2 separate regions of the Homo sapiens genome follow, and region 2 is linked to region 1. Evidence: promoter capture Hi-C in 16 types of primary human blood cells and fetal thymus (Javierre and others, 2016). All regions are on one chromosome and are shown on one strand. The core of a region is centred on a gene start or on the middle of the fragment in contact, and the rest is flanking DNA. Distances in the headings are between cores, read along the strand shown.

Evidence for each region. Contacts are between HindIII fragments. The CHiCAGO score rates a contact against its expected background, and 5 or more counts as called.
Region 2: a contact is called between the fragment with the promoter of FAM91A1 here and the fragment with the promoter of NSMCE2 in region 1, in 2 of 17 cell types (monocytes and total B cells). The highest score is 11.1, in monocytes.

The regions. Positions count from the first base shown.
Region 1 is chr8:125,090,350-125,093,725 of GRCh38, reverse strand. It overlaps NSMCE2 (NSE2 SUMO ligase component of SMC5/6 complex), which reads right to left and starts at 1,866. Exons shown (of 8, transcript NM_173685.4): 1 at 1,768-1,866. WASHC5 (WASH complex subunit 5) reads left to right here and starts at 1,934. Exons shown (of 29, transcript NM_014846.4): 1 at 1,934-2,111. RefSeq lists an enhancer at 1,775-1,994 and a silencer at 2,045-2,214. The HindIII fragment of the contact is 6,790 bases long and covers 1-3,376 here.
Region 2 is chr8:123,766,929-123,770,304 of GRCh38, reverse strand. FAM91A1 (family with sequence similarity 91 member A1) reads right to left here and starts at 1,866. Exons shown (of 24, transcript NM_144963.4): 1 at 1,531-1,866. The coding sequence starts at 1,602. RefSeq lists a silencer at 1,531-1,680. The HindIII fragment of the contact is 7,175 bases long and covers 988-3,376 here.

The DNA.
Region 1 (3,376 bases), core at 617-3,116:
TTTGAGACAGAGTTTCGCTCTGTCGCCCAAACTGGAGTGCAGTGGCATGATCTCGGCTCACCTCAACCTCTGCTTCCTGGGTTCAAGGGATTCTCCTGCCTCAGCCTCCCGAGTAGCTGGGATTACAGGTGTGTGCCAGGACACACCAATTATGTTATTTATTTACTTATTTATTTATTTATTTATTTATTGTATTTTTAGTAGAGAGAGGGTTTCGCTATGTTGACCAGGCTGGTCTCAAACACCCGACCTCAAGTGATCCGCCCGCCTTGGCCTCCCAAAGTGCTGGGATTACAGGCATAAGCCACTGTGCCAGGGCCTCTCTTCAGTTTTCTATCTGCCCACATCTTACCCATATGCTAAAGTCTGAATGTTTGTGTCACCCAAAATGTATATGTTGAAATCCTAACTTCCAAGGTGATGGTATTAGGAGGTGGGGCCTCTTGGGAGGTGATGAGGCCCACTTTCATGAATAAGATTAGTGCCCTTTTAAAAGATGCTCCAGATAGCTGCTTTGCCATTCCACCATGTGAGGACACAGCAAGAAGCCACCTATGAACCAGGAAACAGGCCCCGGAACTGTGAGAAATAAATTTCTGTTGTTCATAAGCTACCTAGTTTATGGCATTTCCGTTACAGAAGCCCACATTGACTAAGATACCATCTTTCATGGCTTGGTTTAAGTGGTTCTCAACCAAGAAGGATTTTACCCCTCTCGCAAGGGGACATTTAGCAGTATCTGTAGACTTTGTGGTTGGCATCTAGCGGGCAGAGGCCAGGGATGCTCTTAAGCATCCTACAAAACACAGGACAGCCCTCACCCTGACCCCACAGCAAAAAATTATCTGGCCTAAAATGTCAATAGTGCATCAGTTGAGAATAACTGGTTTAAATCAATCTCTCTTGGATCCCTCCCCAGGTAATAACACTGATCTTTTTCTTCCCGGTACCTATGATCTCCAAGAAAGTTTAGAACAAGTTGTGCATTTCCTGAGTTTTTTCTCTGCATGTTATTTATAGACAATATGTTGACTTCCTTTAAATCCATGGGAGCCTTGTACAAGTCAGCCAGAGCTGCCTCTCCTTTTTCAACATGCAAGGATAATCCCTTCTCTCTGAATCCTTCTCATACAATTGCTTTTCCCTCCCTCATGCTACCATTATCCCTATCACATGCACATGTACACAACACACTCCTATTATGAAACTCATCACAACTATTTGCTCACATGTCTGCAGCTTCTTTAAACTGACACCTCCTTAAACTAGAACCCTGACATATTCTATTGCATATAAAGCAATTCCTCACACAAAATAGGGGACCAATAAAGATTTGGCCAGTTACAAAAATAACAACAGACATCATCATTTCTCGGTCACCTACAGAATGCCATAAACTGGTGTCCCGGCACTTTATTCTCCTTATCGCTAATTCTCACTGCAATCTACATAACTGAAGAGGAAATTGAGGTCCAGAGAGTTTATTCAAACGACCTTCCCGTGGCCTTACTTTTAAAGTCAGTTCAAACAAAATCTATTTGGATCAAAAATTCGTAATCTTGCCCCTACACACTTGAGGCGAAAGGATGGAGAGATGGCGTCTCGGACAGGAGGGTAAACTGTCCCAGACTCACTACCGTGGCGTGAAAAGTTCCACAACCATAATCCGGGTAGACGGACCCCCGGCTCGGAGTCCCCGTGGAGTGTCCCTGAGGGTGGCGAAACTCCTGCCACCCTCCCCATTGCCGTCCCCCGCTTCTTCCCTACCTGGTAGTCCAAGCTGTCTCCGTCTGGTGGCACCCCAATTTCCCCTGCCTAGACCCACCTCCTTTCCTCAGCCCCCTTCGCCTGCCGCTGAAAAGTGAGAGCGGGCTCTTGCGTCATCAGCCGTCGCCGGCGAGTGGTCACATGATGCCCCTCCCTGCTCCCAGCCGCTTCGGTCATGTGACCGCCTGGGGAGTCAGGGGCGGAAGTCGGGGTCTGACCCGCTCCAGGTCCGGGACTGCGGATAGAAGAGGACCGCCGCCTTGAGGGAGGGGTGGAAACTGGGTGCCGGCTCCGCGCGCGACCTCCGGCCCTGCGCGTGCGCCGTGGCGCGGCCCGGCTGACAGGTGAGTGGGGATGGAGTGAGCGCGCCCCATTTTTGCATGGCCCCCTTCCCCTCCCCGCTGGGCCGCGCTGGCCACGGGGAGGTCTGCAGAGTCGCGTGCAGCCTGGATGGGGGACTCGGGATGGAGGGCTTAGGGGCTTTCTGGGGCGGGGGCTGTAATCCAGCTCTTCGTCTCCGCTTAGGGGGAAATCATTTTGCACACCCCTTCCTCGCTTTAGGAAGCACCGTTCAGCTGCTTGGTCCGAATCTCATCCTTCCAAGTTTCCGGGAACACTGCTGTATGGATGTCGTCGTTATTTCTCTTTGCTTTTGAGAAAACTGAAAGGCTAGTAGTGAGGACTTTTACAGGCTGACAGACGTGGATTTGCATTCTAGTTATGCCATGGGCTGTGAGTTTGGGCAAGTCATTGCTGCTCGCCGCGCCTTAATGCCTTCACCTGTGACATACTGATGTCAAAATCCTTTGCATTTGGGGGAAAAAAAAAAAGTTCCCAGGGCCCTGATTCCTGGGATCGGAATCAGGATTATGATCGGACAGGAGAAAGAAAAAAAGTCACAGAGCCATAAAACTGGGTCTCCTGATTGCAAGCGCATGGAGCTCCCTCAAACATAGGTGAGGCGTAGTGAGGGCGAAGTTTTACTGTCTTTGTGCACTACAAGGGACACCTTCTCTAATTGTCCTTCACCTGCCTTTCCCAGGATTTCAGGTTCAGCCTCATTTCAGAACTTTTCTGGAAAATATATGCAGCTTGCATTTATCTTGATCAGCAACCGTTATATTTTGTTTGTGATAATGGATTTGTGGAGACCAGTGCTTCCTTTATGGAACTGAGGTTTTGCGAAAGGCTAAAAATAGACCTGCCTTCTTTTGTCCTCTGAAGAGGGTAAACTGTTTGTCCACGACAATTCGATTTCCTTAAGAAATATTATTCTGTACTCAGGGTAATTGGTGTAAGGATGTCATGCCTTATTCTTGAAAGCATGTCTTTTGATTAGGATTACTTCCCAAACTGAAAATCACAGTTCCACGCCAAATTATTAAAAATGAAGTTACCGGCACTTGTAAAAGAAAATAAGAAAATATAGTGGGATCTCTGGATTTCATGCCAATAATAATATAGCCTGTATTGAGAAAACTGATCTTCAAGTGTTCTTGATCCCTAGCACCAAGAGAACCTCTGAAAGGATAATTTAACATAGCTTCTTCTACAGTGTTTATTTGGACCTAATTCTAAAGTGGTTTTTTAAGACTTAGCTGAGTCTTAA
Region 2 (3,376 bases), core at 617-3,116, 1.3 Mb after region 1:
ATCCCCAAGGGAGGAAGGGAGCAAAGTAAACTAAACTATAACAATCCTCATACTGGCTGGGCACTGTGGCTCACGCCTGTAATCCCAGCACTTTGGAAGGCCGAGACGGGCGGATCATGAGGTCAAGATATCGAGACCAGCCTGGCCAACATGATGAAACCCCGTCTCTACTAAAAATACAAAAATTAGCTGGGCGTGGTGGCGCGCACCTGTAGTACCAGCTACTCGGGAGGCTGAGGCAGGAGAATCGCTTGAACCCAAGAAGCAGAGTTTGCAGTGAGCGGAGATCACACCACTGCACTCCAGCCTGGGCAACAGGAGACTCTGTCTCAAAGAAATGAAAATAAAAATAAAAATAAATAAATAATCCTTATATACCATCACCGCCACCATTCCAAACTTCCCAAAAATGCCACTGCCGAGTGCCAACAGAAAACTGAATTTCACTCTCGACCAAGTATAATGGGAGGAAGCGAAGGTCAATCTATGACCAGAGCAGCAGTGCGTTATCTGTAGCCCATATCACTACTTTCGTAAGACTTAAAACCATCTGCTATGTTACGTATTTATTCATTTATTTGTTTACGTCTTTCTTTAGTAAAATGTAAGCTCCATGAAGGCAGTCTTTGTCTTGTTGACTGTTGCAAATTACCTGCACCTAGAGCAACGCACAGCACCTAGTAGGTGGTCAATAAATATCTATTAAACAATTGAGTAAAACAGACTAAAAAAATCGAGAATTAACTTTCAAAAACCTCATGTCACTCTTGTTGAAACATCTCTGATAAACCCATCTTGTCTGGAGGATAAAGTCCAACAAAACAAAGCACACAAGCACCTTCAAAATCTGGCCCTGACCACTTTTCCAGGCTCATCTGCTACCAGCCCCGCGCACTCAAAAAACTTCAACTCCAAACATGTCAGTCCAAACTCTGGTGATACAGTCACTTGCTACTCATGAGACATGTTCTTTCACTCATCCAAGCTTTGTAAAATGACTTTCCCTCCCCCTGGAAAAATCTTTATTCCCTCTTATTTAACTCTTATTCGTCCTCCAAGGCCCAATTTAAGTGCCTGCCTTAAAAATCCTTCCAACTCTCCCAGGATAATTTCTCCCTCCCTCTGCTCTCACATATACTACAATGCAGGTGTGTATGAGCTGCTATCATCCTGTATCGTATTCATTTGTTTCCCATCCCTTTCCCACCATCCTGAAATTCCGGAGGTCAAGGACCGTGTTTAAAATCTCTATCGCAGGTGCCTGGCTGAATGTATCCTGCGGGCAAAGGCGCCAGTCGAGTCCTGTGGACACCATGCCATCCCATTTAGCGATCGCCCCGTCCTGGCCCTGTGGCCCCACAGCCGTCCCCTCCTCGCCCTGGGCTGAAGGTCCGTCTCCCCAAGACCACGGAGGAGTAAAGGAAGGGAGTCAGCCGGCAGCAGCCCGCTCGGGCCCCGCGAGCGAGGCAAGCAGGTGACCGCTGGGCGGGCCGAATCCGTCAGGGGCCCGGTCCCAGGTTCCGGCCGTACCTGTCTCACGTTGGCCGGCAACTTGTTCCAGGGGTAGTTGTGCCGGATGTGGAACTCCACGTCTATGTTCATGATGCCGCGGCCAGGGCCGGCGGCCGGGGCCGCCACCGCGACCCACACTACGCCTCCCGCCTGCCCGCCCGCAGCCTGTCAGCGGAGCGACGCGGGAGGCCCCGCGCCTCACACTGCAGAAGGCCCAGGCTGCCCCATGGCCTAGGCTCCCGACAGTTCAGCGCCGCCCGGGCCAACCGAGTACAAGAGCAGCAGCGATTGGAGGCTGGATCGCCTGAACAGCTCCAAGTTTCTTCCTAGTTTCGGGCCGCCGGAAATGGCTCTGGGCACACGTCACTTCCGCCCGCTGGCGCGCGGCCGGAGGGGCGGGGCACGGACTGGCCTCTAGCCACGCCCTCTACAGGCTGCGGGGCGGGGCGACGACGAGGTACCGGGAGGTGCCCGGGTGAGCGTTCCCCGCCCGCGCGCTTCGTCTCCCCGTTTCAGTCTCTGAATGAACGGCGATAGTCGCTTGGGTCTGCGTTGCCGTTGCTGATGACCCAGTTTACTCAAATTGTAAAGCCGGAGGCACTGGGGTCGGTTTTCAGAGAAAAGCGACCTGGGAAGCGGGCCGGCAGTGGCTGGCTTTACATTGGAGTGCGGTGCGCTCGCGGGGGTTCTCCACAGGCCAGCCCGGAACCCGGGCCAGTGAGACGGGGCGGGGGGTTGCGGGGACGGGTCCAGGGCCCTGGAGAAAGAAATAATCTCTAAGTCAGGTCTCGCACCGGGTTGAGCGAGAAGCATGGGCAGTGGGAGAGCAAAGGTCTGGTAAGCCCTCTTCCCTTCCGCGGTGTGCTGCACGTCATTGGGCTCCACTTCCCAAGAAGATCCAAATTCTTACAATGCAGGGATTCAGGGAGCTGAAATTTTAAACAGTGGTGCTGACAGGTCGAGGCAGCCTACAGGGCTGACAGAGAGATACCCTTGCCAACTTTGTCATGCAGCCTGTCGGTTTCTGCTTTATTCTGCTCCACACAAATGCCTCCAGAGTCACTTAAAAGCAAAAATCCAGCATGTCTTAATTTCAGATTGAGTGATAAGGTCTTTGGGAATAATTTCTTTCAGAAGTTGTTACGCTGCCTTAGCAAACCCGTGACCATTATTCCTGGCAGCAACCAGAGACAAGTTCAGTGTTATTGCAACTGTTTTTCAGTTTTTAACAATGGTTTTAAATAATGTTTTATTATATACTGGGAGATGTATACTTAGAACTTTTTATAAGATACCTAGCTCACACCTCAACAGCTGGCAAGTCTGATGCTTAGCAGAAACCCCATTATGTCTGATGAAATAAAGGTGACAAGTACACACTGCCCTTGCTTAGATGTTTTGGTCTCCTATTATCCAACTATAATAACCCAAAGATAAGTGCTTTGAACCTTATGTTTACAGATCCTCATCAGCATAGCTAAGGTTAACTGAACTCTAACCGTGAGACATTTATTCAACAAATATTGATTACCTGCCCGCCATGTATTAAGGCCTTGACTTGACAATAGATTATTCCTCACAACCCTGATATTCCTACAACAGTAACCACTTACTATCCCAGTTTGATAGAGGAGGAGACTGAGGCTTGGCAGGGCTTCATGACTTGCTCGCAAGATCACACAGGTAGCACTGACAGAGCCAAACTGGAGCCGAAGGCTATCCTCACTCCAGAGCCATCCTTTCAGTTCCCCAACTCAGGCTCTCACTCACTGAACTCTTCTACCTCCTGTTCCAATTTAGACAATGTTCATTCAAAGTCAACGACATAAACATCCTCTAAAATAATGCTTTACAGTTCTAAGTG